5 separate regions of the Homo sapiens genome follow, and all the other regions are linked to region 4. Evidence: promoter capture Hi-C in 16 types of primary human blood cells and fetal thymus (Javierre and others, 2016). All regions are on one chromosome and are shown on one strand. Each heading gives the region's core, a stretch centred on a gene start or on the middle of the fragment in contact. The rest is flanking DNA. Distances are from core to core; before and after follow the strand shown. Region 1 overlaps INO80C (INO80 complex subunit C). Region 2 overlaps GALNT1 (polypeptide N-acetylgalactosaminyltransferase 1). Region 3 has its middle 16 kb from the start of FHOD3. Region 4 holds the start of RMP24 (ribonuclease MRP subunit p24). Region 5 holds the start of GALNT1 (polypeptide N-acetylgalactosaminyltransferase 1).

Region 1 (5,359 bases), core at 629-3,128, 480 kb before region 4:
AGGCAGACAAGCACGTCTGCTGAGAGTAAGGAGAGGGTGGTAATGAAGAGAGGACCAGAGGTCTAAGTCAGCCATTCCAGGCAGCAAGCTAGAGAAGAGTCAAGAAGAGGATGAAAATGACACACGGAAGCACTGGTTTTTGAAAGGGACCCCTCCTGCCGGCTTGCTCACTCCATCCTCTGCCAGACCCCCGCTGGGAAGTCAGGCTGAAGAGAGGGCAGAGAAAGGAAGCCACCCTGGAGTGAACTGAGCCACATCATACCAGTGCTGCCTCCTGCTTCTGAGATTGTGGCAGGCTCCCTTCCTTCTCTAACCAGAGACACCCCTGCCCCAGGCCAGAGCTGGTTTTATGCTTCACTTTCCTCTCCCCCGACCCCCACATTACTACACCCTTAGCCTAGCTGAGACTCCTGTGTCTACTAACAACAGGATGAGAGGGAGACAGACCTTTAGTCAAAGGGAAGATCAAGTCTGTGAGGCTTGGATGCAATAAGATAAAATTAAAATGATGCATCATTTCCATATTACTAAAGCACTATTATCACTAAGGACTTTACAAGATGAACTGTCCCGCCCCAAGATATGAACACCCTAAGAGGAGAGGAAGGAACGCCTAGCACTAAGGGGCGCCCCCTCTTTGCAGCACTAACAGAGCTGATGTAAGTCTCAGGGAAGAGAAATCCAGCCTGCTACTCAGGAAACACACGCCTATGCTAATAGACTGGAGTTCACAAGGCCTGGGTCTCGCCCTGCTCTGCTCTGCCCAACTGAAGAACCCAAATCAATGGCTTCATCTCTCCAGACAGTAGTGTGCTTGACTCTGAATCAGACTAAAGGATAATTTGGACATTCTGTCTGTGGTTACAAAGAAAGGAGAAAAATATCCTTTGTCTTATTACTGAAAAGTCAAATGTCAAGTTATATCTATGTCATAGAATTATAGATGCAAATAGCTGACCCTGGTCTAAAACTGCAAGGTTACTATAGGGTTACTTAAAACAGCAAAAATTCAAAATGCAACCTCAATATCCAATAATAAAGTCAATTAAATATGAGTAGTTAATTCCTTGGAATATAATGCAGTCAATAGTCATAAAAGACTATTTGACTTTTAAAAGTCTAATTGAGAAGACTATCAACACATAGAAATGTTCACAAAATAATGCTAAGTGAAAAACGGGGCACGTAATACTATATACCAAATATAATGATGAAAAACTGTATCTACATGTAGAAAACACAAATTATAATAGTTGTTGGGGAAGGAGATTGGGTGACTTTTTATGTCAATTTTAAAAATGAAAAAAAAGGTAATTTTAAAAATAGAAAAGAATAACTTTTAAGACTTAAAATTATCAGGATTTGTTGAATTTTTACTTTTGTGTTTTACAAAAGTTGAATAGTAGGATGACTATTTTTTCAATGAATAAACCAAATCAGTCCAGCATTATCTGGCTGCCCCTCCAATTACAGAAGATTCTCTCATTATCTGCCCTATCCTCCTAAAGATGCAACTACTGCCTCTCCACTTTAGATGTTTTATTAGCTGCTTCACAAATGAAGAGGCTATTAAGTAACTCTCAGTCTATAGGTTAATTAGATTTCTCAGTACATTTTATCAACTTTAATACACATTTGAAAAGCCTAAATTACCCTATATTGATTCAGTAAAACTGTTGCCAAAAGCATTTCTCTGTACCATGAATTTGGTTATACCAGAGATCTAATTAATAATCTTCTAATATACAAAGTAACAGAGTGATATCAAGAGAGGCAGTTAAGAAAAAAGAATGTAGACTCTGGACGGCATGCCTGGGTTCGAATCCCGACACTAACACTGTGTGAGCTTGGGCAAGTTACACAGTCTCTCTATGCTCTTGGCGTTTTTATCTGTAAAATGAAGTGATCAATTCACAGAGGGTCGTTTGGAGAATTAAATGACATAGTACTTAGAAAGTACATAGAACAGTGCCTGGCATGTAGTAAATGCTTGATAAATATTAATTACTATTATTTATCCTTATTCCTTTCACTTTAACAGTTATCTGTTCCCCAACCCACCAAAATTAATCCCTTCAAAGTAACAACCAGAGTGAATGGAAGACTGCACTTTCATAACATTATTAATCAACAACTGTTATAGTGAAAATATAAATCCACAGAATTGTGATTCTAAGATGATTTGTACCACCCCTTAGCAAGCATGAACATTAGTAGTAATTTCTGCTGAACTAGAGAGAGCCATCTTGATGAAATGATAAAACAAAGTTGTTTTTGTACTACTAAATTATTTAATAGTATTTCCTAACACTGATGTAAAGAAGGCTTCTATAAATGCTTTTCTCAGAATACTTTTAGCTGAAAAATATTCCCTTCAACTCCTCAGGACTTCTAAGCATCTAAATTTCTAAACTTCTTTAAATTTCAACTAAGCACTCAATTTTACTTTAGAAACAGCAAGCATATTTCAGGAAAGTTAAACCCACCTTAAGAATCCATGATAATTCAAGTTATCTTTAACAATCTCAAAAGGCACTCTAATGTCCTACACGTAAATGTGCTTTGTAAATTTTAAAATTCCATGAAAGTTTTACATACTTTGCCTTTACTTAAGAATCAAAATAGCTAAAATTACTGACGTAGGGAAATTTACGTGATGAAAGACCTATAAAATCTCCTCTAACTCAAGAAATACAATCATTTATAGAAAAACACTCACTTCCCCACTAAGGGAACCTTGGGCAACCTGGGTTAATCTCACAATGAGCACAGCTCTGAACCTGGAATGCCTTCTCCAGCAAACCTCTCCAAGCCAACTTCAAGTCCCTCTGCCTCCCTACCTCTCCTTTGAGTACCATCACCAGCACTGAGGAATCATCCTCCTGTGTCTCACCACAATAGGGCACCAACACCTATAATTACCTATAATTAGCTTTGGCTCAAGGTTAGACATTACTATATCTTCCTAATGGTTTCATTTGTGTGATAGGTAGAATTCCAGTACACCCCTGCTACCTTGCAAGTACTCTGCCCCTGGTGTGCACACAATTTCTCCGAGTTATTCAAGCAGACACTAATCTAGGTGCAGCTACAAAGGGGTTTTGCAGATGTAATTAAGGTCTCAAATCAGCTGACTTTTAAAAAAGGTGATTATCCAAGTAGGCCTGCCTAATCACATAAATCTTTTAAATCTGAGTCCAGGGGTCAGCAATAAAAGAAGTCTGAAATATCTGAAGCATGAGAAGAATTGGACACAAGGGAGATTCTCCATAGCTGGCTCTGAAAATGGAAAACGCCATGTGGCAAGGAACACGGGCAGCAGCTGACAGCCAGCAAGAAGACAGGGGCCCTGCAGTCCTGCCGCCCCAAAAGAACAGAATTCTGCCAACAACCTGAATTCACCTGCATGCAAATTTCTCCCCAGAGCCTTCAGACAAGAACTCGGCTAACACTTTGATTTCAGCTTTGTGATACCCAGAGCAGAGAGTCAACCCAGTTGCATTGTGTCAGGACTTCTGACCTACAGAACCATGAGCTACTAAATGAGTGTTATTTAAGCCACTAAATTTGTGATAATTTGTAATGACAGCAGTAGAAAACTAAACACAATGTATATACGTCATTCTCTCCTGGGATGTTTTTGGTAGTGTGGGGACAAGCTATAATCCTTTGAAATGTCTTAAGCATACTGCTGGGGATGGAACAGAAACAGTACAATAAATTACTGCTACATGAACTGAACTGAAACAGAACAGAAAGGTTGGGCAAGTGACACAGATGAGGGTGACCTCAAGAAGATTCCTGGCAGCCCTCAGGGGTACTGTGCTTATGCCTGCTTATTTCCTATACGCTGTGAAAAGGGAACTAGAATGAAAGGATCACAGCAAGGCAAAAATCTAAGACAACCGGGCACAGTGGCTCATGCCTGTAATCCCTAAACTTTGGGAGGCCAATGTGGGCAGATTGCTTGACCCCAGGAGTTTGAGACGAGCTTGGGTTATGTGGTGAAATTCCACCTCTACCAAAAATACAATGGTGGCATGCACCTGTCGTCCCAGCTACTTGGGAGGCTGAGGTGGGAGGATCCACTGAGCCAGGAGGTCGAGGCTGCAGTGAGCCATGATTGTGCCACTGTCCTCCAGCCTGGGTGACAGAAGAAGACCCTGTCTTCTTTAGTAAATATCAGTTGGGAAAAGGAGAGTCAGGACAAAAGAAGGCACTATTTCATGAAATGCTCTGCCCTTTCCAGCTTCTCCTGAGGCTGCTGCTTGGATACAAAAAAGGCCCAGAGGGAATAGAGAGTTAAGATTTCCACCATATTGGATTACTGGGAATTTCCAGTCTCCTGAAGGCATTTGACCACTTTCAGAAGCTTGTGGTAGTGGAAGTTGATCAACAATCCCTTTGGGGTCAAAACAATTATTCCTACCCATATGTCCTAGTGACACTCCTTGGTCCTGGCACAACTGGTTATCAAAACGCACCAGTCGCAGGCTGGGAGCAATTACTCACAATACATACATCTGGCAAAGGAGTCTAATCAAGAAAGATAATGTAATGAACTTCTACACATCAATATAATTTTTTTTTAAAAGCCAATTAGAAAAAAATAATTAGGCACTCCACAAAAGATCTGGAATGTCCAACAAGCTCATGAAAAGTGATTGATATCATTAGCCATCAGAGAAACAAATTAAAACAAGGAGATACTACTACACACTCAACAAAATGGCTAAAAGTTAAAGACTGACAATGAAAGACTGACAATACTCTGTATTGTTGAGGATTTCGAGCAACTGGCACTCTCATACTTTGCCGGTAAGAATGCAAAAACAGTGCAACTACTTTGAGAAATACTGTTTAACAGTTACTGAGTTAAATGTATGCCTACCTTCTGACTCAGCAATTCCACTACTTCTCAAGAGAAATGAAAGCATCTATCTACACAAAGACTTGTACAAGAATGTTCAGAGCAGCTTCTGCACAAAGCCAAAAACTGTAAACGTTCAAATATTCATCGGGTGTATGTTTATACAATGCAACAGATGTACTAAACGACTCTCAAAAACATTGTCTCAAAAAGGAACCTAGACAGATGCAAAAGAATATGTTCCCTATTGTCCTGTATTATTCCATTTATATTATGTTCCAACCCAAAGTCAGTCTATTGTGAAGGGTGGCTGAACAGTGGGTAACTGTTAGGAAGGAAAGACAGTACTGACAGGAAAATGTCACCTGCTCTTAGAAATGCTATCTTGATCCAGGCAGTGGCCATAGGTGTATACAAATGTAAAAGGGCACTGGATCTGTAGTTTTGTTTTGTTTTGTTTTGTTTGCGATAGGCTCACTCTGTTGCCCA
Region 2 (5,530 bases), core at 1,614-4,113, 360 kb before region 4:
CAGGTCAGTTAAATCTCTGTCATTTTATGCAGAATATATGGAATAACATGAGATTAATAGAGCATTGTTCCTGCAGCCCATCTCTTGGGATATGGAAATAGCTTGGCTTTTCAGACCTCATGTTTGAGATGGTGTTTGCTCTTGGATAATTTTGCCTGGAGCGCCTTGCTGCCCTTGAGCCTCTTCTGTGTGTGCTGTCATAGTATGTGTTAAATGTAGGAATTGAAAGCACTGCTATGCATGATAGTTTACTTAGATTAATTGTAGCTCTAAATTTTGTGTTTTAATTCTTCACTGTCTTGGCATCATAGATGTTGGACAGTCCAAAAAAAGGAAGTTTTCCTATAAGATAATTATTTTTTAATGGAGGATGGGCACAACATTTCATCAGAAGCATTTGGGAGAAAACAGTGACCAGGAGACAGAGTGGATTTTTAAAAAATATTGATTGTAATCAACTGCCCACTCTTTGCTTAGTATTAATACCCTTAGATTCTTTACATTGAAGACATAGGTTTTAACACTGACATCCCAAATAATAATTAATGTTTTTACTATTTAAAAATGAAGTTAATCCCTAGGATTTGGTTGTTCTTCAGTATACATTTGATCCTTTTAGATCGAGGTTGAAAATAGTTCTGAAAGTCATTTTTTGAGATGAATGGAACACAGATCATTTCAATTTTTTAATTTTTATTATGCCTGGAACCATGAAGATACACTTTTATGGATCACAGAGTGTTCAAATTTCAAGGAATAGAACAGCTATATAATTTGTGAGGCCATTTTAGACAGAGAAAGCAACACCTGTGCAGACATGGAAGCCAGAGAAAGCATGACGTAATTGGGCAGCTGGGAGTGGTTGGATGTGAATGAAGAGCAGGGCATGGGAAAGAGGTGCAGAGTGGAACCAGGGTGTGGTCTCTGCCTAGAAGGCCCTTCTGCAGGATCTTCCTGTGTCTGGCTCCCTGCTCTTCCAGGCTGCTTCTCATTGCCCTGCCTCAGAGAAGCCGTTCCTGATCACCTAGGATAAAGTAGCCACCCAGTCACTTGCTAACAAGCCAACTCCTCTTTTTGTTTGTTTATGGAGCGTTCCTTACTGGCTGTCACTTTTTGTTTATTGTCTGTGTCCTAGTGCTTTACTATAGTTCCATGAGAGCAGGGACCTTGTCTGTCCTGTTTATTGCTGTAGATCTAGAGCCCAGCATAAAACTGGCATTTAATAAATGTTTGTGATGGGAATATAAGTGGATTTTTTTATTATGGATTTTGAATTTTCTTCTGTGAGTTAATTGTTCTTAATCCAGTAGTTCTCTAAACCCTTTTACACTTTTAGAAATTACTGAAGACCCCGAAGAGTTTGTTTTGTGGGTTCATATGTATTGATATTTACCAAATTAAAGATAACCTAGACATTTAAAAATAATTTATTTAAAATAATAGACTTGTGATATGTTAATATAAACATTTTTATGAAAAATAACTTTTCCAAAACAAAAAAAGTGAGAAGTGTGGCATTATCTGACATTTGTGTAAATCCCATTAGTGTCTGGCTTCTCATAGCTGGATTCTCATACCCTCTTTTTTCCATTCAGTCTATTGATACTGCATATCATGTAGCCTCTGGACCTCAGCCACATGCTTAGGAGGGAATGACAGTAAACAGGCAAATGGTGACTTGGCATAGTATAAAAATAGTCTTGACCTTGCAGACCCCTTGAAAGGGTCTTGATGACCCCTTGAGTTGGATAGGGTGGGGGTCTTTGTACTACATTTTCAGAACTGCTGCTGTAGGTGGATGATTTTCAAACTTTTTAGTAGCAGGAGTATATTTTCAAATATCTCCTAACAAGTTCCAATGCATAGAAAAGATAAAGGTGGAGCTGTTTTGGTTAAAGTGCATATGTGGTGGGAATACGGATTCGGGAGCAGGGGAAGGTCCCTGGAGCCATGCTTTCACTTTTTTTCTCATTTTTTGGCTGAGCTACTAAATTGGCCAAGGGATTGATACCTCTAAGGCAGGAATACTGTGTGAGAGAAAGTGAGGCAGTTGAACATACTGCAGAGACTTTCCACCCTGTGCCATAGTTTAACTTTCAGGTATTTTATTTAATAGCTTTTTAATATTTTATATAAGTCAGTAAGAAAATTTGCTATAATTTGCAGCAACCTTAGAGAAATATTTATGTAATCGAATGTTATCTAACTCAGGTTTTTAAAAGACAATTTGCTCTCTTTATACATCTGAGAGTATGTAAAATAAAATTCAATCAAGGTCCAATATGTAATCAGACAAAAGTAAGGATGTGGAGGAAGTTTAATATTGGGAATTGGTAATCTAATTGTATGTGCCAAATGCAGGAGGAATTCTCATGGTCTTGAGAGTGGAGGGAATGGCAGCTGGCCAGAGGCTGCCTAGAGCTTGGACCCTGTGTTAGGCAGCACCACCACCAGCTAATGGTAATACGTTGTTGTGGTAAATGCAGTGTTTGACTGCCTTGGGAAACATTCTTAACTCAGTCTGTTTTGTTTCTGTGTAAAACTGTTTCTAATCTTTTTTGTCTTGAAAAAAGGATCCTGACAAAAGTTTCCCACAAAGCTTCTGTTTTTACACAAAAATCCTGTCTCTAAATTTGTAGGCCTTGCCCTTTGGGAGTTTTATCTGACAGGCAATATAAAGTGTCCTCATTACCATCATTATTTATTACCTGTATCATTAAAAAAGACATCATTTATTATATGTAATTATATCACAGTGTTTATATAAAATATGAGCTCTAGCTTTGTTGTCTACATTTTAAGAGAAGGAAAAATTGAGAGATAAAGGGAAAAGTAATGAAAATAATTATAAGGCTGCAAAATACTGTCTTAGGTTTGGATTTAAATATTTTTAAGATGTGATTTAATAACTTCACACATGATTCTTATGAAAAGAGAAAAAACCTGTTTTAATGAGTTAAAAATAGGGTACATCTCCATGAAAGATAGAAGGAGATATAATTGGACAATTTGCCTTCTGGATTAGGTTTAAAATTCAAAAGAACTGCCTAATAGTGATACTAATTAAATTCTAATTATCTTTAGAAATGTGAAAGATAAGTCTGCTAATTTAACCATTTTTTCAGTAAAAGCTTCACTCTAAGCCTATCGTGTTTATTTTTATATTTGTTTAATTTTTTTGAACAAATAGCATCATAAATTTTTTAGCATTTCCAATTAATATTAAAGTGTGCCCCAATTTCTTTGAAGTAGATGGAGTCATGTAGTATTAACCTTTCTAGGCCGGGCGTGGTGCTCACGCCTGTAATCCCAGCACTTTGGGAGGCCAAGGCATGGATCACCAGATGTCAGGCATTCAAGACCAGCCTGGCCAACGTGATGAAACTCTGTCTTTGCTAAAAATACAAAAAATTAGCTGGGCATGGTGGCAGGTGCCTGTAATCCCAGCTCCTCGAGAGGCTGAGGCAGGAGAATTGCTTGAACCCAGGAGGTGGAGGTTGCAGTGAGCTAATATCGCACCATTGCACTCCAGCCTGGGCAACAAGAATGAAACTCTGTCTCAAAAAAAAAAAAATCCGTAGGCAGCTCTCCATCATACCTCACACCAGGAGAGGAGGAAAGTACCCATAGTTTCTTAAAATTTTATGTTTAAAAAAATTAATCAGTGGTATGTTATAGGGAAGTAAGAAATGTTTTAGTAATAGCTACCTTGTTTAAGATCGCAGCTCCTCTCCACCAGGCACTCATGGTCCTCCCTACCTGACTACTCAATTTTTCTTTCTTTCCATTGCAATACCTTCTGTGCTATAATCTAGTTTACTTATGTTTATTATTTCCTGTCTCCTACTCTGCTCCTACAGAAGTGCTTTGAATGCATTGATCTTTGTTTAGTTTACTGATACGTACTGAGTGCCTAGAATATATTTGTTAATTCAATGAATTGCTTTTCCTTTGGCTTCTAGAAGTGGATGTACATTTCTTTTGGGGAAAAATACTCAGCAGACTATTCAAAACTTTAAGAGGCTTCTGTTTCTGGCAGCGTGGCAGAGTAGAGGTTAAAAAAAAGGTCCCACATTATGAAATGTTAAAAATACTGGACTTAATATTCAAAATATCTTTTAAATGCATCGTTGAGCTGACAAGAGGTAAGGAAACTTTCCAGAGGCCCAGAACAAGAAATCTTGAATCCAGGGAGGTAAGTTAGTAGTGATACTGGCTCCCGTGCTGAGGGTTCTGGTATTTGTAAGTCCTTCAAAACCCAGAACTTTGGCTTTTGCAGGGTGGCCATAGGGTACCAGACGGTGTCTAGGGATCAAGCAGTTGCTAAGTAAGATCCAGAGACCTTTGTGTAAAGCTGAAGCTCCCTGAAAGCTGTCAGTGGGTTTAACTAGGAAAAAGCAAAAAACCTATCCCTCAGTGGTTGGAAAAGTATAGGGTAGGGAGCATAGGAACAAGGTTGCCTGTTTCAGCTTTTCACTGGAAGGGTAAAATAACCTTCCCCGAAAAATTATAACTGCAGTTCCACTCTAACTGGATTTGGGGTTGAAGTTCATACTACCTTAATGGTGGGGGAAAAAAAAACAACCAAGCCAAGAATTTAGTGAAAAGTAGTCTCAGTCTCAGGACTGAGAATCAAATGAAATCCTCACTGGAGAAATACAGGAACACAGGCCTCAGAGAATTGACACAGGTAAAGTTTCTTCCTAGAAATGCATTCACAATTTAAAAAACCAAAAACACTTTATATAAACCATGAGTTAATCAGCAGAGCAAGGAGACCGTGTAATCAGGCATTCAAACATTGCAGATATTGTAGTTGTCAGATATGTAATATAAGATAAATGCTTAATATGTTTAGAGAGTATAAAATACGGCTAAAGAGCAAAAGACTATCAAAAATAATTAGGCAAGTTGAATTCAGCAGTGTATAAAGGAAATACTGGATATTGAACAAAGGGTTTATTCCAGGAAGGCGAGCTTGGTTCTGCATTAGAAGGACTATTAATGTAATTATCGACACAAGCAGTTTAAAGTTAAAAAAACCATATCATCCTAAAATATACAGAAAAAGAATTTATTAAAATTCATCTCTCTTTTATGGTAAAAACTCATAACAAACTAAGAACAGAAGGGAAATTCTGTAACCTGACAAAGGGCATCTGTGAAAAACCTACAGCAAACATAGTATTTGATAGAGAAACATTAATGGTATTCCTTTGAAAAACAGCAGCGATATAAAGATGCCCACTGTTACCCTGCCTCTTCACAATTGCACTGGAGATATGAGTTAGTGCAGTAAAGCAACAAAGAGCTACAGGGCTATGAGGAATGAACAGAATGGTCATTCCTTAGAGTGAATATAAGTACCTTCATAGAAAATTCAGGAGTTTATTAAGTTGCGAATATATGATTGATATAGTAAAATTTAAGGACTAACATCCAGAATCTGCAAGGAATGCCAATTAATCAACAAGAAGATCATTATGGTAAAGTCAGTTCTATTACTCTAAACTAGCAGCATACAATAATA
Region 3 (5,350 bases), core at 1,691-4,190, 310 kb after region 4:
TTATCTAACTGCAATGTCCACATTAGCTTTATTTCCAACCATAGTCATTGGAAAAATTTGCTCAGTGCTTTACTCTGAGAATTTGTCATTGATTTTATTTATATGTTATTCTCAAAAAGATGGTTCTTCAAAACCACCTCCATGAGAGACTAAGAAGGCCAATGGGAAACCTGCTTTGCTCCTCATACGCTATTCTTTCATGACTCCAAACTCTTCTTATCCCAGTATATCCAAGCTGCTCTTGATGGATCACACATTGCTGCACTGCTAGCAATTACACATGGCTCTATGTACAAATCTTCAACGGTTGGATCACACTTTAGGACGAAATAGGACTGAATGAAGTGGACAGCAAATGCTGACTTGCCCCTGACACCTCTTTCAATCTCTTGTCCATATCCTTGGAATGTTGCTAAGCCCACACTAGCCCACAAAACCCCAATCCCTAGGTCCAGCTCCAGATGTCTGCCTGGCAGGCTGATAGAGAGTAATCAGGTGAGCCTCCAAAAGGGCGAGTTCACTTAGGGGTACCACTGCACCAGAGGCTGGTCAGGGTTCTTTGAGGGATAGAGATGTGTGGTATCTGGCTGGAACATGTGGTAGCTAGTGAGGGGCTCTCTCCTCAGCACCTGCTCCCTCTTAATATCTTTGGATTTAACTTACTGTTGTTTTTGTTGTTGTTGTTTTACTAACTTATTGGAATGAATGCTTAATTAATTTATTCTCCTTTTTTCCTAATATATTCTTACAAGCCTATAGATTTTCTTTTAAGTACTATTTTGGCTTCATCTCAGATTTTGATACATAGTATTGTTGTTACCATTCTGATAAAAATGTTTTCCAATATTTCATTGTGATTTTGTTTTTTATACACAGGTTATTTAAAAGTGTGTTTTTATTCATTTCCAAACATATGGGGTTTCTCTAGGTTATTTTTGGTTGATTTCTAGCTCAGTGGCATTATAGTCAGAATACACACTTTGTATGATTTCAATCGTTGAAATTTGTTGAAACTTGCTTTATGGCCCTGTCCAAAAAAAAATGGTTCATGGTTTACAGTCATCATAAAAATGGTCAATTTTTATAGATACTCTATGTGCTTGAAAAGCATGTGTATTGTGTAGATATCTTTGCTTTCTTCCTGATTTTAGGAATAAGCCTTTCAATCTTTCACCATTTTGTATAATTTAGCTATAAGGTTTTTGTAGGTGCATTTTATGAGGTTGAGAAAGTTGCTTTCTTATTCCTAGGCTGCTGATAACTTTTATTATGGGGGCATTTGAAGTTTGTTAAATGGTTTTACTGTATCAATTGATATGATCATGTGATTTTTCTTCTGTGGTTATTATGGTGGACTATATTGATTGGTTTCCAAATATTGAAATAGTCTTGCTATTCCTGGATAAACTCCATTGATCCTGATATTTTATTTTTTTCATATATTCCTGGGTTTGATTGCTAATATTTTGTTGAGGATCTAAGCTCATGAGGGATACTGGTCTGTAATTTTCTTTTCTTGCACTGTCTTTGTCTGGTTGCCAGAATCTCTGAATACAATGTGTATTTGTCTTATTAATATTTTTCTTTCTGCTGCATCAGTTTTTGCTTCATGTATTTTGGAGCTATGTTATTTGGTGCATTTCCCCTAAGATTGCTATGCCTTCGTGATGGACTTATTCCTTTATTGATGTGTAATATTCTTTGTCCTTAGAAATTTTCTTTGCTCTGCAGTCCAATTTATCTAATATTCATATAGCCATTTCTGAGGATTATAAGCTCCTATCACTTATGAACATAAATTCAGAAATTCTTTAAAAAGTAGCAAACTTTGTTCAGTAATATCTGCAAAGATGATATATTATGACCATGTTGTATTAATTTCAAGGATGCCGAGGTTTACTTTTAGAAAATAAGAGATTAAAGGAGCAAGTCAAATTGTCTCAGTAAATGAAGAGAACAATTTTGATAGAAATTCCACATTCACTTGTAATTAAACACACCTTTTAGCAAGCAGAAGAAATATTAGTGTAAATAATACTAACTGCTCTAACAAGCAAAGCAAAAATCTCCATGGCTTACTGGTGGTAGTGATGGAGGCAGTGAGCATGGCGGTACGATCTGTGGTGCGATGCCTGGCAGAGCCTTTAGTGGTGTCTACTTTAGAGTAGCTATGCAATCTCCAAAACTGATTCTTTGGCTCTCTGGGGAGTCTGCGAGCTACACAATATCCTTTATTACACCTATTTTCTGCTTAGTCTTGTGAGAATTAGTTTCTATTGTTTCCAACTAAGAATTCTGACGGATAGAAAATGTGGTGCCTGATGTGTACCACATCAGTGAATAGTAAGGACTCAAATATTTCAAATTGGAAGGTTGATAACCTTTATTATATTGCGGCAAAATATTTATCAATCTGTTGCCTGTTGTCTTTTGAGACATTGACCATATGCCAACCGTATGGCATATGTTAGAAGACATACGGAAAAAAATCACATTGATGGGGCTCCTTTTTGCAGAGTTCAGCAAAGTTCTAAGGAAGATAAATAAACTCAGGCTAGGAGAGAACCACATCAAGGTCATGGCCATCACATAATTAGCTAAGAACTCTGAAATAAGGTACACTTTTGGGTTTCTAGAAAGTTTTAAATGTGTAGTACCATAAAAGCTTGATGTGCCCAATTCTTGTCAATATTTCCTCATCAGAATTGTTGTGTGATTTTTAATACATAGAGTTGACCAAAATAAAAACCTTCCATTTAGTTTTGAAAGATCTGTATTAGCAAAAGCGCCACCAGTCTGGACTAAAAGGGACTGACTATTCAAGATATAAAAAAAAACTTCTAAGCTTCAGACTTCATATGGAAAGAAAGAAAAAAGATAAGGCTATTCAGCCACCAAAAAGTGCACATTCTCCAAAGTGCCCTTTTCAGACGGGCACTTCAGAAGGACATAACCCAAGGAGTGTTATGGAGAAGAAAAGACCTTTCAGAGGATGGATCCAAGAGTCACCGAGAGCAATGAACTGATGCAGAAATGTAAGCTTATTGTGGGAAAAGTAGAAATAGAGATGAGCAAAAAGAAATACCCTCTCATCCTACCACCCTATCAGAGACACAGTTAACCTTGAATGATTTGGTGTATAGGTTTCCAGACTTTCCCCCGTGCCACCAATAACTCGTGCCCTTCTGTGTAGCTTCTCTTAGTGCTCTTGTGACTCTGTTCTTTGCATTGATGGAAAAGCCATATGTGGTGGCTCTCCAGGATTCTTGAAAAAAGCTCAGCCCTGGCCTTTCCAGACAGCTCGTTGGGAGTTTAGAACACCCTTTTGTCATCCCTTTGAGATCTTGGCTGGATGCCACCCTGGGCTCCTCTCTGGCTCACTACCCTCCTCTCCTGGCCTTCTTCACCAGCTTTGGTTAATGAAACTTGATGGATCATAGTGCCGAGCACTGTGCTTCGTGCTGGGGGCACAAAGATGCATTTTACATAGTCCCTGCTCTTAAGGAGCTGAGTGAGGATCTAGTGGGTGGAACCAATGTATAAGCAGAAACCATTAAAATAATCTAGTCACTAATTTCAACAGTTCCCATGAGGGAAGCATTTAAAAATGATTTCACACGCAGAGTTTGGTCCCCAATTTTAGAAAAAACTTATAAATCCTGTTAAAACATGGCTTCAGCTAAGAAGTCCCAATGAATTTTAAATGTTTATTTAACATTTAAAGCAGCAGATTTACGAGAAATCTATTCAAAATGTTGAATTTATAGTAGTTGTACCCTTTCCACATGTTTTGCTTATAGCTCAAATTAGCCTTTTTAAAAAACACAGTTGCTTAATGATGCTGAATTAATCATTCACTCAGCAATAATTAATTCTTACCAGTGGAAGCACGATGACTTTTCTCATAAAACATGGAGAAAAACAACTCATTTAGTGACTTAGTGACAAAGTAGTATGTTGGAATTTTGATTGCAGTAACTGAAGATGAGTAGGGTTATTGAGATCATACTTTTTTGCACATTAAAAACTATTTCTTATTAAAGAAATTTATTAATAAAAATAACATTTATTTTCTACTTGTGAATGTATATAGAGTCATGCACTTTTATTTTATTTAATTCTCACAAAAACCCTAAGGGTAGGTATTTATACCTACATTTTCCAAATGAGGAAACTGAGGCTTAGAGGGATTAATTGACCCAATCAAGATCAGAGGACGACTTATACAGAGCAAGGATAAGATTTGAACCTAGGTCTGCCTTTTCACCATTGTGATAAACTGCTGAATAATGATCATTGTGGGCACCATTGTAAGCACTTCACAGGTATTAAATTACTTAATCCTCTCTAACAAGTTTATGAGAAATCTATGACTATTACCATCTCCATTTTAGAAATGAGGGAAGAGAGGCACGGAGAGAGTAAGTCACTTGCCCTAGGACCCTGAGCTCGTAAGTAGTGGGGCTAGGTTTTGAACCCAGGCCTCTAACTCAGGCATCCATTTTTTTGCTCACCTCACTCAAGGAAAGCCATTATTGTTTATTAAACAAATTGCTTTTTGATACACATAAAATATTGTAAAAATAAGCATTAGCAAGTGATTTGTTCATGAGCTGTGATGGCCACTGTGTGCCTCCCATTGCACTGGATGGTGATTGTGAGAAAAGAAAAGACCACAGTTCTTTTTTATAGAACAGCATCTCACTCTATCACCCAGGCTGGAGTGCAGTGGCATGATCATAGCTCACTGTAACCTCAAACCCCTTGCTCAAGTCATCCTCCCGCCCCAGCCTCCCAAAACACTGGGATTACAGGCTTAAGCCATGGGCACGGTCCCACAGTTCTCGTGTTCAGTGAGCTAGATGGCTCTTATCAGATGATCACAAGGACAATGGCGCTTTCAGGGAGGTTCGGGAGCCAGGTGTACATCTAGCAGGGACCAGGTTGGCCTGTGAGATTGAAAGGGAAGTCCCACAGATGGTCAGAGTGCCATCTCCTTGGGATGACAGAAAGCTGTCCATGAACTGGGTTCAGTGGCTCATGCCTGTAATCCCCACACTTTGGGAGCCCAAGGTGGGTGGATCACGAGGTCAGAAGATTGAGACCATCCTGGCCAACATGGTGAGACCCTGTCTCTACTAAAAATACAAAAAAATTAGCTGGGCATGGTGGCGGGCGCCTGTAATCTCAGCTACTCAGGAGGCTGAGGCAGGAGAATCACTTGAACCCGGGAGGCGGAGTTTGCAGTGAGCTGAGATCATGCCACTGCACTCTAGCCTGGGTGACAGCAAGAGACTCCATCTCAAAAAAAAAAAGAATGCTGTCCATACAGAAGCTGCCATGTCCGTTT
Region 4 (5,358 bases), core at 2,526-5,025:
CTGTTCAGGGCTCTCAGCTCTGAAGGCTGTGAGACCCCTGATTTCCCACTTCACACCTCTATATTTCTGTGCGTGTGTCTTTAATTCCTCTAGCGCCACTGGGGTCTCAGCACATGCACACATATTGGATTTCATTTTCACATTTTCCCTCTTTCTGCTTTATTAGTGACCTAGAAACAGATACAACTATGTAAAAAACAAAACAAAACAGAACTTCTATATGGTGTAGTGGCATTTCTCCTATGCCATGGTGGTGTTGTGAGGATTAAATAAATTAATACACGTTAAGATGCTTAGAAAAGTGCCTGGCACATATACAGTGCTCATTGCATATTATTTTTATTTCAATTCAAATGGAAAAAGACTAGTTTACCTAGCATGGGGCTTTTGTATAACTTACTATCCATTTTGAAAAAATGTCAGATGCTCTTACATTTAAGTGAAAATACATTTCATATCAATTAAATATGTGCATGGAAGAAATCATACTAGAAAAGTATGAGAAAAACATCTGATTAGCCAGGTGCAGTGGCTCACACCTATAATCCCAGCACTTTGGGAGGCCAAGGCAGGTGGATCATGTGGTCAGGAGATAGAGACCATCCCAGCCAACATGATGAAACCCTGTCTCTACTAAAAATACAAAAATTAGCTAGGCATGGTGGTGCATGCCTGTTATCCCAGCTACTCGGGAGGCTGAGGCAGGAGAATCGCTTGAACCAGGGAGTCGGAGGTTGCAGGGAACCAAGATCGCACCACTGCACTCCAGCCTGGCAACAGAGTGAGACTCTGTCTCAAACAAACAAACAAAAAAATCTAATTGAATAGTTAGTTGCCTAACTTTGACAAAGCAGGACTTTTTAGACCACACAGAAAACCCAGATCCAATAATGAAAAGAGTGACTTGTTTGATCACATACAAAATTTTGTAATGTTAAAAAGTTATAAATTATGCCAAAGATAAGGAAGAAGAAAATATTGCATCACATATGACAAGCAGAAAGTGAATTTCACCAAAATAAAAGATCTTCTAAAAACTGATAATCCAACAAGAGATTTCTCTTCATAAGAGAAAATGCAAACCATCAAGGGATAAATGAAAAGAGGATTTGCCTTTCACCTATCTAATTTGACCCAGCCTTCTTAGTCATTGATGCTGGGAATATGAATTGCTACAACCTTTTCTGGATGATCTGGCATATAAAAAATGTGCATATTATTCTACCCAGTAATTTATCTTTTAGGAATTCAGACAAAAGAAATAAAACCACCAGTACTGTATTAACTAGCAAAGCACGAATTTTTTTCCAAATGAACATCAATAGGAAAATAAAATATGGTTATTTATTAAATAAATTAAATTATGTTTCATTACATTTTGTAATATGTTCAGCTATTTAAAAGCATGTACTAACTTGAAAAGATGTCTGTGGCCTGCTGTTAAGGAAAAAAGACAAGTTATACAGTAAGGAACTAACATTTTACTTTTGGTTTTGGTTTTGTGTGTGTGTTTGGTTTGTTTCTTTTTGTTGTGGTCGTGGTAAGTGGTGGGGGGTAGCATATTTATACACGTACTTAAGTGTATAAGGACATAGGTAGAGGAGACACCCAATTATTCATGTTGATCGCCTCAGAGAAGTGGGATGGAAAGGTGGGAAGAGCAGGGAAAATAACTTTTCTTCGGAAAAAGTTAAAATGCCTATAGAGATGTAAATATATACTTTCTCTTTACAAATCTTTATATAATTTAGCCCCCCGCCTCCCGCCTTTTTTTTTTTTTTTTTTTTTTTTAGACGGAGTCTCGCTCTGTCGCCCAGGCTGGAGTGCAGTGGCTGTGATCTCGGTTCACTGCAACCTCCGCCTCCTGGGTTCAAGCGATTCCTGTGCCTCAGCCTCCCAAGTAGCTGGAACTACAGGCGCATGCCGCCACACCTGGCTAAATTTTTGTATTTTAGTAGAGACAGGGTTTCACCGTGTTGCCCAGGCTGGTCGCCGACTCCTGAGATCAGGCAATCCACCCGCTTTGCCCTCCCCAAGTGCTGGAATTACAGGCGTGAGCCACTGCGCCTAGCCAATTTAGCTCCCTTTTAAAATTAAAAATGGGCTGGGCATAGTGTCTCATACCTGTGATCCTAACACTATGGGAGGCTGAGGTGGGAGGATCACTTGAGCCCAGGAGTTCAAGACCAGCCTGGGCAATATAGTGAGACGCCCATCTCTACCAAAATAATAATAATAATAACAACAACAACAACAACAACAACAATACCTACGCATGGTAGTGTGCCTGGTTCCCAGCTACTAGGGAGGCTGAGGCAAGAGAACCCTTTAACCCAGCCCAGGAATTCAAGAATGCAGTGAACTGTGATCACACGACTGCACTCCAGCCTGAGCAACAGAGTGAGATCCCATCTCAGATAAATAAATAAAGCAGGCTAAATAAGGGTCCACTATCCAGAACATACACATTAAAAGAACCTTACAACTTATCAACAAAAAGACAACTCCAATAAAAAATGAGCAAAGAACTTAAACAGCCAAAGATACATAAATTGCCAACAAGCACATGAAAAGCTGCTCAAAAGCATCAGTAGTCAGGGAAATGTTAATCAAAACCACAATGAGATGCTACATCATACTCACTAGGAAGGCTAGATTTAAAAAAAAAAGAAAAAGAAAAGCAAATGTTGGTGAGGATACGGAGAAACTGGAACCCTCATTAAGCACAGAATTACTACATAACCCAGCAGATCTACTCTTAGGTATTATACCCCGAAGAACAGAAAAAAGGCACTCAAACAAATGCATGTACACACATGTTCACAGCGGCATTCATTCATAACAGCCAAAAAGTAGAAACAATTCAAACGTTCAACTGATGAATGGATAAACCATTGTGATACCGCCATACAATGGAATATTATTCAGCCATAACAACGAATGAAGTACTGATACGTGCTGCAAGGTGGATGAACCTGATACATTATGCTAGGTGAAGGAAGCCAGACACAAAAGGTCGTGTGTATGATTCCATTTACATGAAATGCCCAGAATAGGTAAATCCATAGAGACAGAAAGCGGACTGGTGGTTGCCAAGGCCTGGGAGGGAGAGGAGGATTGGCCGTAAGTGCTTCATGGAGTTGGCTGTCCTTCGGCGAAATATTTTGGAAATAGCAGAATGGTGCTTGCACAACATTGTAAATTTACTAAACGCCACTGAATTGTTCACCTTAAAATGGTCAATATTACGTTATGTGAATTTCACTTTAATTACAAAAAGAGAAACGCTAGCGTTTACGCAGGCGGAGGGCAGGCTGGACTGGGGACGCTCCTCCCGGCCGCCTCGTTGCTGGCAGCGCTTCCGCCCGCCGGCGCACCAGTCAGTACCGCGCCCGGCGAATGTGGAGGGCGAAGCTGCGGCAGGGCAATCACAAAAGGGCTGTCAGAGAGGAGGCGAGGCGGGAGGAAGATGGAGAGGCGGGTGGGAGCCTCACCTTTGGACTCTATCGCCACAGCCCGGTCTAGCCGCTACGCCCGAGCTCAAGTCTGACTCGAAACTCCGCTGGGTGCCTGAGAGGACCCGGCAGGCCAAGGGGTGGAACTGAGGGGGCGGGGACGCGGCGGGCGGGTGGGGCCGCCTCCCGGCTGGGCACGCCTCCAAGCCAGACTGGACGCGAAGGAAACCGGAACCTGTCTGCCTACGGTGCCTGTTTCCGGAAGCAGCTTGAGTCCGGACACCAACGACGGGGACGCTGGGAAGCCGACTTCCGGCGCCCTATTTTCTCACCTGGTTCCCGCGGCGAGCCAGCGGCAGCGGCGGCGGCGATGAGACAGAAGCACTACCTTGAGGCTGCAGCGCGGGGACTGCACGACAGCTGCCCGGGCCAAGCCCGCTACCTCCTGTAAGAGGACTGGAGGGGAAGCGGGAGGCGAGCGGGTAGGTGTTCCTTTGCTCCTCACAAGTCTCTTTCTCTTTTACAGCTGGGCCTACACTTCGTCGCACGGTAAGAAGAACGCCTGTCTCTTGTGCTTTGGGCTCTTGTCGCCCCGCTTTCCTCTGTTCCGCACAACGCTCAAATAAGGCCGATGGACTCACTTCCCTCCATAAAAACAACAACAACAAAGCCCGCATGTGTCTCGGTTTCGTGAAAAATCCAAATTCTTTAATGTGCCTTGTCTTGCTTTGTTAGCGGCATTTGACACATTGATCAGTCTTGAAATAGTTTCCTCCCTTGGCTTCTAGGTCATTACGTAGTTCACCTCTTCATTTATTACTTCTCGATTTGCTTTGCTGGTTCCTCCTAATCTCCCCAAGCTTTAAGTATTGTCGTGGCCCAGTACTCAGCCCTTGGACCTCTTTTCTAGGCACACTCGCTTCCTTGGTGACAGTTTTTCATCCAATCTCATGGCTTTTAAATACCATATACTGAGGACTTACAAATGTATATACTCAGCGCAGACCTCTCCTCTGAATTCTAGACTCATATATCCGAATGTCTTCTTGACAAATTCTTTTCAATGTCTAGTAATTCAAACTTAGCTAATATGTCCAAAACCTGAGCTTTAACCCCCAACAAGATCCTCCAGTTTTTCTCATTTCAGTAAATAATTCCATTCTTCCCTTACAGTTATTGAGCCCAAAAACCTTGGAGCTATTCTTGACTCCCTAACTCTCTCTCCTCCCCCAGGCCAGTATGCGAGCAAATCCTGTTGGCTTTAAAATGTAGCCAAAATCAGCCAGGAGCGGTGGCTCACCCCTGTAATCCCAGCACTTTGAGATGCAGAGGCGGGCGGATCATTTGAGGCCAGGAGTTCGAGACCAACCTGGCCAACATGGCGAAACGCTGTCTCTACTAAAAATACAAAAAAATTACCTGGCATGGTGGTGCACGCCTGTAATCCCAGCTACTCGAGAGGGTGAGGCATGAGAATCTCTTGAACCCGGGAGGTGGAGGTTGCAGTGAGCGGAGATGGCGCCATTGCACTCCACTCCTCACCACATCCATTGCTACTACCCTGCTCCAGGCCATCACCAGCTCTCTCCTGGATTAATAAAAGTGAAAGTCCTTTAAAAGGATTGTAAGGCCCTGTGTCATAGACCTGCATACCTCTCTGACGTACTCTTTCCTTCACGCAACTCCAGTCACACTAGGTCTCCTTGCTTTTCTGTTTCAGGGCCTTTGCAGGTACTCTTCACTCTGCCTGGGATTCTTGCCTCACATATCTGCTTTCATGTGAATCCTCCATTTCCCTCTGGTCTCTATAATATCACTCAATGAAGCTTTCCCTAGCCACCTATTTAAAATTACAGTAACTCCATCAATACTTCTATTCCCCCCTCCTATCTTACTTTTTTAT
Region 5 (5,511 bases), core at 2,748-5,247, 390 kb before region 4:
TCGCTGACATGACATGATCACCACCAAATGGATGAATGTACCAAGGTTCCTGCCTGCATCCAATTTGCGTTCTCTTGTTCCTGGGCCTCACAACAGTGAGTGGTCATGACAGCGATGATGTCTACGGGCAGGGGAGCTATGAGACGAAGAAGTGCATGCATGTTCCTGAGGCTGCAGCCACAAGACAGAGCTGCCAGGCCTCCGTATGGCAAAGCAAACACAAGGAGTAAAAAATCATAAAATAATGGTGCTTTGCATTCTGCATGATTCCACATACTTCGTATCACTGGACATCTGTGTGGGCTAGTTTGTGTCTGTCCCTCTCTCATCCATTACCCTCTTCTGTTCCTTCCCACAAGTGGGTGCTTGACACACAATTCTGTATAAACAACCTCTACTCTTCTCCCTTCCCTGCCTACCATGTGGGTCAGTTGTTCCTGGACAGTTTACCCTGCTTCAGGCAACCCCCCCACATCTCTCCATTAAACCAAATCCACCCTAGGTGCCATTCATTTGGTTTCTAGGTAGTCAGGAACAAACAATTTGGCCTTATTCATAAACTGAAAGAATATTAGCATCATTTAGATAACAACCATTTTAAAGGGGGCCTGATAGAAATAATGCCCTGAATTAATAAGTCTACTCCAAGGAGCAGCTCCCCTGGTGTGCTTCCGGGAGTCGGGGGCTGTGGTGAGGGGATGTCAGGGCAGATAGGCTATTTCAGGTAGGATTGTTCAATTTCAATGTGTCTCCATTACTTACTCTTCTAGGGGTTAATTTCTTCTATGGTAAGATCATAGAAATCATGAAAAATCCTTACAAATCCATAAAATAATGAAACAAATCTTGAATCCTACCATTATCCAGCCCAAAGACAATGTCCCTTACCCCACAGGCATACCACGTGCATTACTGGAGGCAACCAATGAGTCCTGGGGCAGAGCCAAAGAAAAACAAGATTAACACTGGGAAAGAAAGCATTCTTACTCTGGATTCCCTGGTCTATGCCCTTTCAACTATTCCTTCTTGGCAAATCTTGACTTTGTTGTAAAGAATCTAGTTTTTTCCTGCTCTCAAATATGCTTACCCTTTTCTACCCCATTTTCTGTTCTGTTAGCAGGTACAGTGAAGACACATTTTGGAATGAATAGGAGTAGACTTGGATTGTTGAAGGGTAAATGTGCTTGGTTATAAAAACAGTTGTGAAAAGTGCATTTGATTACACGGTAGAATTATGTGCAAACAGCACACAATTTTTCATTTGTCTTACAGGTAGTTTTCATTGCAAAGAACTTGTTGCAAGCAGATTAAAAAGGTACTATTTTCCTGCGCTATTTAATGGTACACAGTTATCTTTTTTTTTAATTGCTTTATTGAGGTAATTGCACATACCATAAAATCCACATTTCAAGTGCACAGTTCAGGTAGTTTTCGTAAATCTACAACCATTACCACAATCCAATTTTAGAACATTTATATCACTGCAAAGAGATCTCTTGTGCCCCTTTGCAGTCATTCCCCATATCTACCCCCAGCTCTAGACCACTGATTATCTGTATCGATTTGCCTTTTCTAGATATCTTACATAGTCAATGTGTCACTTAATGACAGGGGTATGTTTTGGGAAATGCATTGTTAGGCAATTCTGTCATTGTGAGAATATCATACAGTATACTCACAAACCTAGATGGTATAGCCTACTACACACCTAGGCTACATGGTACAGCTTATTGCTCCTAGGCTACAGACCTGTACAGCATGGGACTGTACTGAATACCGCAGGCAATTGTTAACACAATGGTATTTGTGTATCTAAACACAGAAAAGGTAACCCATTGCCCAACGACATTATGAAGGCTACCTCACTTGGTGATAGTAACTTTTCAGCTGCATATAATCTTATGGGACCACCATTGTACAGGTGACCCATCATTGACCGGGGCATGGCTGTAAATAGATCCTACAATACAGGCTCTTACACATCTAGCTTCTTCCACTTAGCTTATCGTTTTTGAGGTTCCTCTATGTTGTATCTTCTATGACTACTTCGTTCCTTTTACTGAGTAGTAGTCCACTGTATGGCATATACTGCATTTTATCCACGCAGCAGTTTCTGGACATTTGGACTGTTTCTACTTCTTGGCTATCATGAATAACACTGTTATTAATATTCATGTACAAGTTACTGTATGAATTTATCTTCAGTTCTCTCAGGCATACGCCTAGGAGTGGAATTGTTGGGTGATAGAATACTTCATGTGTAACTTTTTAAAAAACCTGGAAAACTGTTTTCCAAAGTGGCTGCACCATTTTACATTTCCATAGGCAACGTATGAGGGTTCTAATTTCTCCATCTCTTCACCAACACTGCTATTGTCTGTCTGTCTTTTGTACTACAGCCAGTGTAGTGGGTGTCAAGAACTTCCTTGTTGTGCTTCTAATTTGCATTTCCCTATTAACTAATGATGTTGAACACCTTTTTATGTAATTGTTGATCATTTAAATATCTTTGGTAAAACGTCTATTCAATTGTTTTGCCCATTTAAAATTGGACTATTAGTCTTATTACTGAGTTGTAAGAGTTCTTCATACATTCTGGCTACAAGTCCTTTAACAGATATATGATTTGCCAATCTTTTCTCCCAAGATAAGAGTATTTTTTAACGATGACAACTTTATTCCAAAGTGAAGTTTCCTTGTGGAACAGTAACAGGCTAGTCATGATTGACTTTGTTTCAAAATATTATATAAGTACTTTTAAAATAGTAACTTTTAACTTTTATTTTAGAATACTTGGAAGATGTAGACAAGCAAAAACAGGATACTAAAATTCCAGAGATAATCTTCAGGTTTTTTTTTTTTTTTTTCGGACAGCCTTTTGGTTATGTGAGAGGTAATATAAATTTAAAAGTGGGACCACTTAAATATTAAGTAATCTCTTATTGCAGCTCTTGGTTGGCAAGCAATAAGACACAAACCTCTGAATTATTTAAGTAGAAAATTAATTTATTAAAAGAATGGTTGGTTATGCCTCGCGTGAGTGACAGAGCCAGGGTTTTGTCTTCTATCTTCAGGGCAGGGTACAGCTGGGTATTGGAATTGTACCAAGCAGTGTTTCCCAAGGGGGCACAGAGGGAGGGCCCCTCTCCGGGCACTGTGCGGGAGCCACTTCCCCAAACAGTCCCCGTTCTGCAAGGGCCCCGGCGTTGCTGCCCCCGAGACCCGGGTGCCTGCCCCGGCGGTGCGGGTCGCGGGCCTCCGCTCTCGCCGTCCTCCCTCAGTCCCGGGCCTCCTGCATCGCGGTCGCCAGGCGCAGGCTCAGCGCGGCTGACAGCGCTCCAGCTCCCGCGCTCGCGGCCGCCTCAGGCAGCCGACCGGGTTGGGGCGGCCCCGCGCTCGGCCCGGGAGCCGATCCGCTGTGAGGGCTCCTCCATCTCCTCCCACCCCGTGACCTGCTCGACGCGCAACAGCCCGAGTTGTCTTTAACTTGCTGCGGCAGCCTCTTTGTCCCGACCCAGGGTCGGGGGCACCTCTCGGCCTGGCCCGGCCCTGCCCGTAGCCGTGTGAGCGGGGGCCGGGACTGGGCGGTCGGTCCGGGAGGGGCGCCGCGCCCGACCCCGGAGTCCCGAGCCCGAGGGGAGCGTCGCGGCCCCGCGGTGGGCTCGCCGCAGCGGAGGGGGCGCGCATCCGGGTGAGCGCCGGCGCCCCCGCCTCCCCCGCGCAGCCGCACGGGCCGCCGCCGCCGCTGCCGCCGAGCACGCAGCGCAGGGAGGACCGCGCCCGAGCGCCTGCGGGCGCCCTGCGGCGCCCGCCGCGCGACGAGCCCCAAGTGAGCGGGCAGGCGGCGCGCATGCGGGGCGGCCCGGAGTAGCGCCGCCCGAGCCCGCGAGCGGGGCGCCCGGAGTAGCCGCCGACCCGAGCCGGGCGCGGAGGCGGGGGCGGGCGCGGCGGAGCGGGGCCCGGCCGGACCCGCCCGCCCGCCGGGGGAGCCGCCGGCAGTGGCCGAGGAGCGCGCGGCGGACGGCGGCCCGAGAGTAGCGCGCTGGCCGCGGGACCGGCCGCGACCGCCGCGGCCGGCCCGGAGGACGCCTGCCGCCGCCGCCGCCGCGCGCCTAGCGAGGTGAGTGTATCGCCCGCGGCTGGGCAGTCCCGGAGCCGCAGCGCTGCGCGCGGGTCGGAGGTGGAGAAAGAGGCCCCGCCGCGGCCGCGTCCCCGGTCCCTTTGTGGCCGGCGCTGCCTGGGGCCGGGGCGCGGGCACGCTCGGCGCGGGTTCGGGTCTGGGACCCCGGTGCCGTTGGACACGCGGCGTCTCTGGTTGGCAGCTTTGGCGAGCAGCGAGTTTCCGTCCTAGTTTGACATTGAGTTAGAACCGTTTTTCTTTAGAAGACGGAAGTTTGTTTTATTGACAAAAATAAAGCTAAATATGGCTTCTGGGTTCGGCCGTGTGGTACTTGCAACCGCGGTGCCAGCCTGACCCTCGCGGCGCCACGGGGGAGGGGAAGACACGCCGGCAGCGGGGGAGGGGGCTTCCCGGCCCGCTGCCCCCGAGGAGGACCCGGACCTAAATTAGCAAATGTTTGTGGTTGGGAAGTAGCGGGCTTTAGGTAATGTAGTAGCTTTTCCGCTTTTCCTGGAAGAATGAATGAATGAGATGTCATTTACTCATCCATAATCAATACGTTGCCCATTTAAGCATTTACCAGGAATTGGGATGATTTGCATTGTCATTGCTTCTCTTATCTGGTCAGCCTTGCTAGATGAGGTTCCCTTACTCCCCAGATTTGTGACCTTGTCCTCATTCTCAAAGCCACTGAGCTAACCAACCCGTCTACCAAACTCACTTGGCATTTTTTTGGTCAAGTGGGCAATAGGCAAAGTAGTCTTTCTGAACTGTTTCTGGAGGGCAGAGAATGTCACTTTGATCATATCTTATGTTTAATACATTGCTTTATAATCGTGTCAAGAACGCTGAGAGTTAGGAGGTCTTGTCATTTCACAGATGAAATAGTGAAGGCCCTAAGAAGTTGCAACTTTTCAGGTCACAATCTGAGCAGCAGAGTTGGGATTCAAACCTAGACCTTGTTAGTCCAGTCCTCTTTACATCACATCTGTGTCCAGACCTGGACTGTCCAGCGTGGGAGCCACTAACCACATGTGACTATTAAAATTAAATTTTAAAAATTCAGCTCCTCGGTCACAGTAGCCACATTTCAAGTGTTCCATAGCTAAATGTGGTTCTTTGCTACAGTTGAACAGCCCTGGTCTAAATTATACATACATTTGTTGTGTCAGTAAATATTTACTGAATGCGATCTGTCTATGAGGCACAGTTTTAAGTTCTGGGTACATGGTGAATAAGGGAGACACAATGTCCTTGCCCTATTGGAATTGACATTTTACATGATCCTTTGAGGATGTTTCCATGGTACTCCGAGTCCTGCTATTCCAAGTGTGGATGGTGTACCAGCAGCATCCCTGTCACCTCAGACTCAAGTAATGCAGAATGTGAAG

Evidence for each region. The method cuts DNA at HindIII sites, captures the fragments that hold promoters and counts their contacts. A CHiCAGO score of 5 or more calls a contact.
Region 1: a fragment that was not itself captured here is called in contact with the fragment with the promoter of RMP24 in region 4 in 5 of 17 cell types (naive CD8 T cells, non-activated CD4 T cells, total CD4 T cells and 2 more); the score reaches 7.7 in naive CD8 T cells.
Region 2: a fragment that was not itself captured here is called in contact with the fragment with the promoter of RMP24 in region 4 in 1 of 17 cell types (naive CD4 T cells); the score reaches 5.2 in naive CD4 T cells.
Region 3: a contact is called between a fragment that was not itself captured here and the fragment with the promoter of RMP24 in region 4, in 1 of 17 cell types (naive B cells). The highest score is 6.0, in naive B cells.
Region 5: the fragment with the promoter of GALNT1 here is called in contact with the fragment with the promoter of RMP24 in region 4 in 4 of 17 cell types (M2 macrophages, naive CD4 T cells, activated CD4 T cells and 1 more); the score reaches 6.8 in M2 macrophages.

Annotation. Positions count from the first base shown.
Region 1 is chr18:35,491,244-35,496,602 of GRCh38, forward strand. All of the region lies in intron 1 of INO80C (INO80 complex subunit C), which reads right to left. Among named protein-coding and RNA genes, the nearest start is that of INO80C, 4.0 kb to the right of the region's middle. RefSeq lists enhancers at 1-115, 116-777. The HindIII fragment of the contact is 4,983 bases long and covers 1-4,370 here.
Region 2 is chr18:35,609,305-35,614,834 of GRCh38, forward strand. The region is part of intron 1 of GALNT1 (polypeptide N-acetylgalactosaminyltransferase 1); the gene reads left to right. Among named protein-coding and RNA genes, the nearest start is that of MIR3975, 20 kb to the left of the region's middle. The HindIII fragment of the contact is 532 bases long and covers 2,598-3,129 here.
Region 3 is chr18:36,278,757-36,284,106 of GRCh38, forward strand. No RefSeq gene overlaps it. Among named protein-coding and RNA genes, the nearest start is that of FHOD3, 16 kb to the right of the region's middle. The HindIII fragment of the contact is 195 bases long and covers 2,844-3,038 here.
Region 4 is chr18:35,968,904-35,974,261 of GRCh38, forward strand. It overlaps RMP24 (ribonuclease MRP subunit p24), which reads left to right and starts at 3,776. Exons shown (of 5, transcript NM_031446.5): 1 at 3,776-3,902; 2 at 3,982-4,004. The coding sequence starts at 3,826. It overlaps LOC105372066 (a long non-coding RNA gene), which reads right to left and starts at 3,548. Exons shown (of 4, transcript NR_188032.1): 1 at 3,495-3,548. RefSeq lists silencers at 3,263-3,557, 3,497-3,646 and an enhancer at 3,566-4,458. The HindIII fragment of the contact is 7,007 bases long and covers 1-4,313 here.
Region 5 is chr18:35,577,743-35,583,253 of GRCh38, forward strand. GALNT1 (polypeptide N-acetylgalactosaminyltransferase 1) reads left to right here and starts at 3,998. Exons shown (of 12, transcript NM_020474.4): 1 at 3,998-4,120. RefSeq lists a silencer at 3,040-3,739. The HindIII fragment of the contact is 12,017 bases long and covers 1-5,511 here.